Regions from separate parts of the Homo sapiens genome. Here region 1 is linked to region 2. The links are contacts of gene promoters, found by promoter capture Hi-C in human tissues and cell types (Jung and others, 2019). All regions are on one chromosome and are shown on one strand. The core of a region is centred on a gene start or on the middle of the fragment in contact, and the rest is flanking DNA. Distances in the headings are between cores, read along the strand shown.

Region 1 (5,761 bases), core at 1,912-4,411, 690 kb before region 2:
TATAGGCGGTATATTTAGAGTCGTATATAAACAATCAAGATCTTCGATGTCTCAATATTTCTTAGGAACGTTACTCAGAAAAAATGTCACCACTTTGTTTTAATTCAGTTCTATATCCACATATTTGTAACTTGTAAATTACCAGTAATAGACTGAACCACATTTTTTCCTTTTCTGGTTTTGAATTGAAAAATTACTGCTTTATTTGTTTTTTTCCTTTTAGAACTGGTTTTATGAGAATTGGAAGTTAACTTTGGGGATGGCTTATTTCTGTGCTCAGTTTTTGTTTAGGGATATATACATCCTTGTATAAGGATACATATATAAATATATACATATGACTAGAGGTCTCTGCATTTTTTTTTTCCATTTTTTGAGATGGAGTTTTGCTCTCGTTGCCCAGGCTGGAATGCAATGGCACGAACCCGACTCACTGCAACTTCCGCCTCCCAGGTTCAAGTGATTCTCCTGCCTCAGCCTCCTAAGTAGTTGGGATTACAAGCATGTGCTACCATGCCTGGCTAATTTTTGTATTTTTAGTAGAGATGGGGTTTCTCCATGTTGGTCAGGCCGGTCTTGAACTCCCAACCTCAGGTGATCTGCCTGCCTCAGCCTCCCAAAGTGCTGGGATTATAGGCGTGAGCCACTGTGCCTGGCCGATCTCTTTTTTTTGTGTGTAATGATTTTTAGATTTTCTGAACTTAATTTTGACCAGTAGAGGTAAGGTTTGAACACCAAGCAACTTACAATAAATAATGTTAGTATGATTTTTCAGTATAAAATATATGAGTTTATTATAACTGATGGGTTTCCCTCTGAAATTATAGTGCAACATTGGTTAACTATTTCCTCAAACAGATTTTTTTTAAAATTAAGTTTTACATCAACAGGAAGAGCATATTGGTTTTGGATGACTGACTGAATTTTAATGAATCTACAGTCTTTACTTGAAGTTTAGGTGTTTTCAGGGAAGTTCTGTCTTCACCTTCTTCCTGGAAACCCAGATTTTTATTAGACATGGATTTTTAGATGTAAGAAAATATTAATTTAATTTCATCATGTTAAGGACTACTTTTCTATGCATGTGTAAACTGCTTCAAGCACTTAACAGGCTTCTTTTTTGTTTTATGATACGATAATTAATATATTAAGCATGCTTTGAAATGCATTTTAAGATAGAAAAGGTTAATCTTTTAAGAATAACATAGACAACTTATTGCTAGTATTGTATTGACTGGATCCATTCTGATTTTTATTGTTATTGAATAATCAGGCAAGAGCTCTGTAGATTTTTTTTTGCCTTTAAGAAAAAAATTTCAGTGGAATGGAATTAACAAACATAGGTAGCCTTTTTTATTTTTTGGGAGATAGGGTCTCACTCTGTCATCTACACTGGAGTGCAGAGGTGCCATCTTGTCTCACTGTAACCTCTGCCTCCCAGGTTCAAGCAATCCTCCCGCCTCAGCCTCCCAAATAGGTGGGACTAGCACCTGGCTAATTTTTATATATTTTGTAGGGACGGGGTTCTGTTATGTTGTTCAGGCTGGCCTCAGACGCCTGGGCTTAAGCGATCTGCACACCTTGGCCTCTCAAAGTGCTGAGATTCTGTGGGATTCGCACCTGGCCTAAAACATAGGTATTAATAGTTATATTCAAGGTAAGAATAACATTTTGAATATTTGAAAAGGTGTTGAACACTAATAATTTTGGAAAGCCTTTTCTACAAAATTTTGAGGAAAGGAAGAAAAAGAAGTTTTGGCAGAAAGATAAGGAATGCCAGAATACACTGATTAAATTCTTAGAACCTATACCAAAATATTAAAAATTTTTCCTAAAGTAAAATTTGACATTCTGTGGTTTGGAGAGTTTAACTTTAGGAGTAATTTATAACAGAATCATATATATGAAAAATTTTTATCTTGATTTTCAGTTTTTGCAGAGTGCTTTGAAGGTAATACATTGCTGTCTGAAGGAGTGTTGTTTTGAAAAAAAAAAATAGATTTTGCTTTAAAGTGGTTACACCTTTTCCAGGTAGTGCAATTAAAAAATTCCCCTTTCAACATACTTTGTTTTTATATTACAGACATTTAAAAAAGTGTCAATATGGTAAGTACTTGTTGTTTTTTGAGACAGAGTCTCGCTCTGTCGTCCAGGCTGGAGTGCAGTGGCGCGATCTCAGCTCACTGCAAGCTCCGTCTCCCGGGTTCATGCCATTCTCCTGCCTCAGCCTCCTGAGTAGCTGGGACTACAGGTGCCTGCCACCACGCCCGGCTAATTTTTTGTATTTTTAGTAGAGACAGGGTTTCACTGTAGCCAGGATGGTCTCGATCTCCTGACGTCATGATCCGCCTGCCTCAGCCTCCCAAAGTGCTGGTGTTGTTTTTTTAATTTTTTTGAGATGAGGTCTCGCTCTATTGCCCAGGCTGGAGTGCAGTGGCACGATCACAGCTCACTGCACCCTCAACCTCCCAGGCTCAAGTGATCTTCCCTAGTAGCTGGGACCGCAAATGTGTGCCACCATGTCTGGCTAATTTTCTTATTTTTTGCAAAGGTGGGGTCTTGCTCTGTTGCCCAGGCTGGTCTTAAACTCCTAAGCTCAAGGGATCCCCCAGCCTCGGCCTCCCAAAGTGCTGGGATTACAGGTACGAGCCACCACGCCTCGCCTTGTGAAGTAGTGTTTTTTGTTTGTTTGTTTGTTTGTTTTTGAGACAGAGTCTCGCTTTGTCGCCCAGGCTATAGTGCAATGGCACGATCTTGGCTCACTGAACCTCCACTTCCTGGGTTCAAGCGATTCTCCTGCCTCAGCCTACTGAGTTGCTGGGATTACAGGTGCCCACAACTGGCCCGGCTAATTTTTGTATTTTTAGTAGGGATGGGGTTTCACCATACTGGCCAGGCTGGTTTCAAACTCCTGACCTCAGGTGATCTGCCTGCCTCAGCCTCCCAAAGTGCTGGGATTACAGGCGTGAGGCACCGCGCCTGGCCTGTGAAGTAGTTTTAATATGTACATTTTTTACATGACTAGTGTAGGTTATTGCATTCTCTTTCCCTGAGGCAGTCTGTATTCTCAAGATTACATGTATAGTACTAATAATAGTAATAAGTGGGAATTACTTTTGGATTACATGACGGCATTTTTATGTAGCTATTGTTTAAGTCCCTAGTGGCCCTCCCTTCGTTTCCTCTGAATTCCCTTAATTTTCCTAGAATTTTAAGAAGGTTAAGGACCATGTCCTGTTTGTATTTATTTGTACTCTATGAAGGGTTAATGCTGGAAAGAAATCTCTTTCAACCTACAACACTAATCCAGAAATGGTTGAAATGCTTTTTTATTTAAGAATAAAATCCCATATCCGGACTATTGTATCTCTCTAATATGTGCATATGGAATTTTCCCTTTGTCTAATCTATCAGATAATTTTTTTCTCTTGTTTTCATGGGAGAGAATTAAAAGGATTAAGCTGCAGACTTTTAAAAAAGTTACTTCATTTAAAAAATCGCCGAATGTTGTAAAAAGAATAACTTGAGAAATGTTAGGAAACAAATTATAGTTTTAACTACCACAGTTATAATTTTATTACTGGTTGTTACATGTTGATACTTCCTTTTAGTGTTTCTTTTTAGTTGGCATTTAAGAGGCCATTATCCTCTCACTAAAGGTAAATGTGTTTTTGATAATCTAGCTACAGCCTGCTTTCTGCCTAGTTTGTGCTAGCTCAGTCCTAGGACATTAGATATCTAATCATCTTAAGAGAATTCAACCAGCGGATTAGAGTGATCTGGTTATTTGAGCCACTTATTAGACAATAATAACTCTCTTAATCATATTGATTGTACTTTTTGTACATTATTAAAATTGAGCATAATTTTTAAAGCCCACATAAAATTTTAATTTAGAGCCCAACAAGGTCAAGTTAAAATCTTAAGGCTTAATATTTTACATGAAGTTTTACTTTTTTAAAAATTAGGAGTAGCATACAAATTATTTGGAGGGCTCCAAGGGAAAGTGTTATCTGTTTTTTGTTTGTATGGATTTTTACTAAGAGAAATTAGCCTGGTTTCAGGGATGTGTGTATGCATGTGTGTACCCATCTTCAGAATTCTGAAGTAACTGAATTTCATTAATATTAGACTTGACAAATGGCTGGAGGCAGATAACTGTACAGTTGCTACAGTGATTTCGAATGGATTCAGATTATTAATATAATACCTGTTTATTGCTTCCTAAAGGTATGTAAGAAAATAAAAGTTGCCTACATATAAACCTAGTTATGGTAATTAAGCTTGAGAAAAAATGTCTTTTTAAAAATGATTAAAGGTTTGGGGCTTTTTTTTTTTTTTTTTTTTTTTTAAATCTCACTAGCAGACCGAATAGAAGAATATACAGTAACTAATTTATTTTGAGTATTGCTTTTGTCATTCCCTGCTGTTACTAAGATTTAACAGCAAGAGTCTCTGGGTCTAGGTATATCTCAATTTACATACGATTTTTCTTTCTTTTTTTTTTTGTTTTTTGTTTTTTGTTTTTTTTTGAGACAGAGTTTTGCTCTTGTTGCCCAGGCTGGAGTGCAATGGCATGATCTCGGCTCACTGCAACCTCCACCTCCCAGGTTCAAGTGATTCTCCTGCCTCAGCTACCCGAGTAGCTGGGATTATAGGCGCCTGCCACCATGCCCGGCTAATTTTCTGTATTTTTAGTAGAGATAGGGGTTCACCATGTTGGCCAGGCTGGTCTCGAACTCCTGACCTCAGGTGGTCCATCCGTCTTGGCCCCCCAGAGTGCTGCCACAGCGCTCAGTCTGATTTATTTCTTAAAAGTTGTATGCAGAATGATTTAAAGTGTATTAAGTCTGCTTGTTAATGAAAGAAACAATATAGTGAATTCTTTTTTAACCAAAGTACCCTAAATTGATATTACTGGTAATTTTTATTTTTAACATATAGCTGACTTTGCCTAAAGGTATACAGTTACATGAATGTTATAAGAAAGATGGCAAACAGGCTTTGTGTTATCATTTGTTTAAAATAGCAAATTATGGGCAAGTTATCTTACAAAAAGGTAGCCTTTTAAATTAATTGTACCTTTTATATTTTATTTAGCTTATGTTGATTTTCATCTCCCCTTTTAAAAAATTATTTAAATAGTACAGTGAGGGTGAAATGAAAAAGATTTTGTGGAATGCCACATGTCAGAAAATACAGTGTCAAAACAATTTCAGTAAATTTTTTTTCTCAAAATCCTCTTCAAAAATACCATATGCCCTTAATCCTAGTACAGATAAAAAACATGTCATTTTAATTTGTTTAGAAGTTACGAGATTGTGAATTGTAAGTAACAGGGAATAACTTCCAAGTTTCTTTACTCATTTTTCCCCCGATTTCTATTTTTATTTCCTCTGAAGTTTAGGAAAGTTAGTGGAAGTTGCAACCAAACTGTTTGTTTGCTAGTATTGAGTAGATATTCTCATGTTGTATTAAATTACCACAGTGTAAAATAGAAGATGTCATAAAAAGTGAAGGAATAATCCACAAAGAAGTGTATTCTATGGCAATTAAGTCTTATTCCTAATATAACTTTAAGATTTGGGAAGAATGTTATGAAATTACTGTTTTTATTTTATTGCATTTTCTTAATATCCTTTTCCTCACTGTGCATTTGACATGTAACCTAGATGAATAAAAATTTTGAAAAAGAAATGTTTCCTGTTACTCTGTTGAGGATGGGGTTATGTGGTTCCCTACCAGTTAATTCACATTAGGT
Region 2 (6,336 bases), core at 2,800-5,299:
GAGATCCTTAAAAAAAAAAAAAAAGTCACTACAATAGATCCCCCTCCTCCCCATTGAGTGATGAGAAGTAGGGAAAGTAGATTAACCAGGTTAAAGTGTAGCAGGGACCTTTTTGTGAATGACTGCCACCAGCAGACCACAATATTGGAAATATGCAACTGGAAGGGTAAAGAAAAAGCTGCTCTGGTTAAAGAAGAGGTAAGTGATTCCAGAAACTCAACTCCTGCTCTCCTCCATCCCTGTGCTTAGCTCTTCTACAGACTAGTTTGAGACAGGGTCTCCCTCTGTCGCTCAGGCTGGAGTGCAGTGTCAAGATCAGAGCTAGCTGTAACCCAGAAATCCTGGCTTCAAGCGATCCTCTTGCCTCTCAAAGCGCTGGAATTACAGGTGTGAGCTACCAAGCCCTGCCCTCCAGACCATTTTTGGAGGAGGAAGCAAGGCAGCAGTGACAGAAGTTCAGGCCATCAAATCTTATGATCTTGTCCCACATTAATTCACAACTAGTTAATTCAAAATCTGTTCATTCACAAACTAATCACTCCTTCAGCTCCTAACAACACAGATGCCATAAATAAGCAACTGGTAAATTGAGTAATTTCTTCTCTGGCACCTTGAAAGCTTCTAATATATAACACATTATTGTAACCATCTTTGAGCACACAGGCCACATTTTCCCTTTTCAGAGAACTTCCCCACTTCCTTTCCTTCAATCCATCAGGATAATCTGCTGATCAGGTTTGTGTGCTTTGACTCTAAGCCCCCGGCTATGGATGATTAGAACAGAAGTAGAGACCTAAACTCAGCCAATCAGATTCTCTCTCCCAGAAGAACTGGAAGAGAGGTGGGCTGGTATTCTGGTCACCCGGACTGAAAGGCAACAAGGTATAGAGCTGCCATATTCTGCTATGACCAGCCAAGATCTCTGGTACTGGCTCACGCAGCAGTCTCCAAAACTGAAATAGTCAGGCGACCCCCTTAACAGTTGCCTAATCGAATAACCAACCCTCCCCCCCCCAACTCCACCCCCGACACACAAGTCTGAAAAGCAAAGGCACCAGGGTCACCAAACCACACTGAGGATTACCTTTCCCAAAATTCCCTATCTCCAGTATAGATGCAGCACTAGCCAGGATATGAACTGCTCTGGTTATACTTGTCCAAAATGAGTAGCCTTGAAGGGTAATGGAAATCCTCTCTGTGGCATATCAGCAGCCAAATATGTGGCATCCAGATCGGCTGACCAATTTCTCTACTGCCAAGAAGTTAGCCAACAAACTAATGCCCAAAATTTTTCCTGGTCCTATAATTTACTTGAGCATCACTCTGACCACCACAATATATTCTGATCCAAGGACCATCATTTTGAGAATCCAAGATTATTTCTTCCCCTTTTCTTTCTTTCTATTCCGTTTTTTAGTCTGTTTTTCTTCCTTTATTATAATGTCACACAAGAAGGATGTTACCAATCATTTAATTTAGGAGCAATCGCAGGATGATGGCTAGAAGCTCCACCTAGACCCCAAGGTACCAGAACAAAGTAGTGTAGCCCGGGCTCTGAAAAGCCCAGACTCTAAAAGCTACATGTCTAAGATTAAAAATCTTAGCTTTTCAAATCTCAAGCTGTGTGATTTAGGTCAGGTTAACCTCTCTGTGCTTCAATTTCTTGAAAAAATTGTGAGAATTAAATAAGTATAGAAAAAATGCTTAGACCAGAACCAGGCATGGAATAACCACTATATTAAAATGGGTATATACCATCATCATCATTACTGTCTGTAATGGGATGTAAGGGCGGGGTACAGTTCATCTTCAAGTGTAGGGTAACATGGGTCTGCACAGAGCAGTTAAGGCAAAGAAAAGCAGATGATGCTTACTGCATGTGCCCAGCCTGCACCCCTCACTCCTCTGAAAATTCTCCCCAGTTAGTCTCTGTTGGGCACGTCATATGAATTGTGGGAGAGGGGCCATCTTCTAAAAATGCAAGAAGTAAAGACAGCTGATTTACAGGAAAAGAGGATGAAGCTGATCCACAAACCAAAACAGAGAGGAAGGCAGAAAGGAAGAGAAAAAAAAGCTTCTTTGGTTTCTATCACTTTCCAGTTGCTGGTTGCACTCCAATCTGAGCACTGACTGCTTTTACTCTGCTCTATAAGAGCGAGTAAATTCTTCGCTTTACATTAAGCTTTGGCCAACAACATTCACAAGAGTCTAATAAAAATCCTGGAAAGTTTTCATTAACAAAAAAAAAAAAAAGAACTTAGAAAACTTGTATACATCTGTTACTACACAAAAATTAAAAATGGCAGGTAAAAATAAATATAACTTCAGAGTTCAGTCTTCTCAACCCATCCTAAATCTAACGCATGAATTTACAGAGGTGAGGTTCAGGGTTCGTTGTTTGAAAAGCTCCACAGGTGTTAAAAGCTCTACAGCTGGGGCTCTGAGCCACTAAAACCCTTAAACTTATCAAGTATGAACACCCTTTACCTACACTTATGGTTCTCTGCATAAACTAGTATGGGGCATAACATGTATTAATATGTGTTTACTGGGAACTTAATAATTATTTTTGAAACAGCAGGAGGGAATATGGCAGGCACTGTGCAAACTCCAACAATCTCCGTTTAGAGCAGAGGATACGTTCTTTTGCTCACGTCCACTAAGCAGGTAACCAGCCAACATCCTTCCCCCATCCCATCTCTTGCGGAAAACAATAAATATACAAAACTGAACCTTTTACCGGATTCCTCTTCCTTATTTGAAAAAGAAATCCTAATATCATAAGTGTTACACAAACGAGTTGCAGTAAATGTAATTTCAAGTTTACACTCATCTCTACCTTGATACATTTAAAAAAAAAAAAAATCAGGGTTTCTGTCCGTAAACATCTCATTTATGTCGCCAGTAATTCAGCGATACACACAAATCCATCTCATTCGTCACACTTAGTTAGGACTTTAAAGGTTATCAGTCTGGGGGGAAAAAGTCTCTTCTGTTCTACCCCCATCACAGCCCTATTCCAGACCTCTGCTATACAAGGGTATCAACAATAAAGTTATGATCTTGTTTTAAGACTGAGAAGAAAAAAATATTTTTCCTCAAGAGTAAAAGGGGTGCACAAACCTCACAACATAGACTTTGCAGATTTCTTACTAAAACACTAAGAAAATATCGAGGTTTAAGGCCGATTATTGAAGGCAGGGATCCCCAAACATTAGGTTCCTCGAAGATGTTAGGAGGCAAGGGTGGGAGAAGGGGCCTTTTCTCGTGACAGACCTGACTAAACGGTAGCATCAGCCATAAGAAGAGGAGAGATTCCTAAACGCAACTTCAGCTTTCAGAAAACAGTCCTCCACCAAGTGAGTAGCATGCAGACTTGTGAATAGCCACAGACACGTACACCCCGGTGAAGGTGCAAGATCAAACGTTGCTTCCCACATCGGCCCTCACTGCGAACCGGGATGTCGGGTCCCCATGTGCCCCTCCTGGAGGGCGCCCCGACCCCCCGCGCCAGGTGTGCGGACCACTGGCAGCACTCAGGAGCCGGCTCGCCGCGGCCCAGGCCCGCCGCCCCCGCGCCGCCCGCGTGCCCTCCGCCGGCCCGCTCCCCTCCCCCGCGCCCTCGGCGCCCGTTCGTCCGCGGGCCGGGGCTCAGGGCTCCGCCAACCGGCCCCAGAGGCACGAGCAGGCGGCGGCCGGCGACGTTGCGGTTTCCCCACCTCCTCTCCCATCCCCTCCCCCGCGGCCTCCGCTCTCCACTCCCGCTTACCCTCAACTCTTCGAAATCCGCCATTTTATACCACCCGCGGGCGCCGCCGCCGCTGCCGCCGCACCCACTCCCGCTGCCGCCAACGACGCTGCCGCCACCACGGCCGCCGCCGCCTCCAGCACCATCCTGCACTGGGCGCCGCTTAAGACGCCGCGGCCGCCGCCGCTACAGCCGGGCCCGTCACGTGAACGGCGCGGGAGCTCCGCCTCCGACGCGCCGAAGCCCCGCCCCTAGCGGTGCCCCCTGCCCACCCGCGCGACCGCCTTCCGCCCGCGCCTTCAGTCCGCGCGGCGACAGCGCCCGCCCGCGCCTGCCCCGGCGTGCTGCCCCGCGGCTTGGCCCCGCTCGGCCCCAGGTCGTGCCTTCCCTCCCCGGCGGAGGCCCCTGCGGACTGCCTAGAGCTGGGTCGCAACTGAGGCGTTATCCGCGGGCCTGGCCTCGGGAAGTGGCGGGGAGGAAGAAGAGGCGGCCGGGACGCGTGACAGGAGCATTCGGGAAGATTCTTACGGTGCCCTTCACGCGGTGCCTATGGACGGAGAAAGCCGCCGCAAATAAAACCATCCCCCAGAGTAGTTGTGGCGGAATAATCTAAATATGGGTGTTGGGTAAGCTATTGTTCCCATCTAATGGTGAGGTTGTGTGACACCTCTTTGAATTGCTAATGTCCTGCAAGTACCAACCTTGCCGAGTTTTTCTGACCTTGAAGGGCACCTGAAGGTCACGGACTGCAGAGTTGGGAGAGTTAGGCGGTGGGGTTGGGGGCGGGGAGAAGTGAAATAAGAGCGCTCAGAAGGGCCATGCTAAAAAGTCGGGGAAATCTGATAGCTAGGAAGGAGTCAAACGCCAAGGCAGAGTAAGTAGATAGAAGGAAGCTTGATGGCCCCCCCGTAATGTGCTGATATAGGATGAAGGAAGATGCTGAGTCAAGATGGCCAGAAAAATCGCTGGACGGTGTCCAGGGTTCAATTTCCTTGAAGAATTGGGTGGAACCCACACACGAGAGGTCTTTAAAACAATGTAACTTTTAAGGCCCTGTTTAATCAGCCTCCTACCTACCGCCTCTTCCCACTACCCCTCGTTTCATCCGCACTGCACTTCCAGGTCTTCCTTCCACTCCCCTGCCCCCGCACCCCGCAAGTTTTGTTTTTTTGAGACGGAGTTTTGCTCTTGTTGCCCAGGCTGGAGTGCAATGGCACGATCTCGGCTCACCGCAATGTCTGCCTCCCGGGTTCAAGCGATTCTCCTACCTCCGCCTCCCGAGTAGCTGCGATTGTATTTTTGGTAGAAACGAGGTTTCTCCAAGTTGGTCAGGCTGGTCTCCAACTCCGGACCTCAGGTGATCCGCCCGCCTCGGCCTCCCAAAGTACTGAGATTACAGGCGTGAGCCACTGCACCCGGCCTCCCCTCAAGTTTTAAGGCTTCTAAATGTTGATCCTTGAACCAAGAATAATTTCCCACTCTCTTCTTTGTTCCTAACTCCTGTTCATCCTTCAGGTTTCACTTTAAGTGTCACTTCCTCAGGAAGACCATCCCTCACCCACATCCCACATTTTAATTCAAATTCCCCTGTTATGACCTCTCCTAGGACCCTGAACTTTTTCTTCCTGAGATGTCTCCATGGTAATTATGTAGGTATTTGTGTAATTGTTTATTTGATATATATGTGTGTGCGTGTATATATATATATGTGTGTGTGTGTGTGTGTGTGTGTTGTGTATATATACACAACACACACACATATTGTTTTGGCCAGGTGCAGTGGCTCATGCCTGTAATCCCAGCACTTTAGGAAGCCGAGGCAGGTGGATCACTTGAGGTCGGGAGTTGCAGACCAGCCAGGCCAACATGGTGAAACCCTGTCTCTACTAAAAATACAAAAATTAGGCCAGGAGCTGTGGCCCACGCTCTAAATTCCAGCACTTTGGGAGGCAGAGGCGGGCGGATCACCTGAGGTTGGGAGTTGGAGGCCAGCCTGACCAACATGGAGAAACCCCGTCTCCACCAAAAATGCAAAATTAGCCAGGCGTGGTGGCGCATTCCTGTAATCCCAGCTACTCCGGAGACTAAGGCAGGAGAATCGCTTGAACCCTGGAGGCGGAGGTTCCAGGGAGCGGAGATAGCGCCATTGCACTCCAGCCTGGGCAACAAAAGCGAAACTCCATCTCAAAAAAAAAAAAATTAGCCGGGTGTGGTGGCACATGCCTGTAATCCCAGCTACTCGTGAGGCTGAGACAGGAAAATTGCTTGAACCCAGGAGGTGGAGGTTGCAGTGAGCTGCGATCGCACCATTGCACTCCAGCCTGGGCAACAGAGTGAGACTTTGTCTCAAAAAATAAAAATTATTATTTTAAAATTTTATGTTAAAAAATTGTAAACCCACTAGACTATAATGGCTGATAAATGCCTAACAAATAGTTGGCCTTGTATTTGTTTAATGAATAAAGGAATGAATGAACAATGTCCAGGTTCTAAATCTGTCTCTCCACCATTAACTTTGTGATCTTCGCTTGGCTTATTCTTACTCTTGATTTATTCTCCGTAGACCTTGATTTACACCTCAGTAGAAT

Evidence for each region. The method cuts DNA at HindIII sites, captures the fragments that hold promoters and counts their contacts. A contact is called where the count stands out against the background at its distance.
Region 1: a fragment that was not itself captured here is called in contact with the fragment with the promoter of KATNAL2 in region 2 in 1 of the 25 tissues and cell types used here (lymphoblastoid cells).

Annotation. Positions count from the first base shown.
Region 1 is chr18:46,227,240-46,233,000 of GRCh38, forward strand. All of the region lies in intron 2 of ARK2N (arkadia (RNF111) N-terminal like PKA signaling regulator 2N), which reads left to right. Among named protein-coding and RNA genes, the nearest start is that of ARK2N, 56 kb to the left of the region's middle. The HindIII fragment of the contact is 6,789 bases long and covers 1-5,761 here.
Region 2 is chr18:46,913,553-46,919,888 of GRCh38, forward strand. It overlaps KATNAL2 (katanin catalytic subunit A1 like 2), which reads left to right and starts at 4,050. Exons shown (of 18, transcript NM_001387690.1): 1 at 4,050-4,374. It overlaps PIAS2 (protein inhibitor of activated STAT 2), which reads right to left and starts at 3,955. Exons shown (of 14, transcript NM_004671.5): 1 at 3,770-3,955. The coding sequence starts at 3,793. RefSeq lists silencers at 3,325-3,404, 3,475-4,214 and enhancers at 3,351-4,104, 5,612-6,336. The HindIII fragment of the contact is 6,925 bases long and covers 1,347-6,336 here.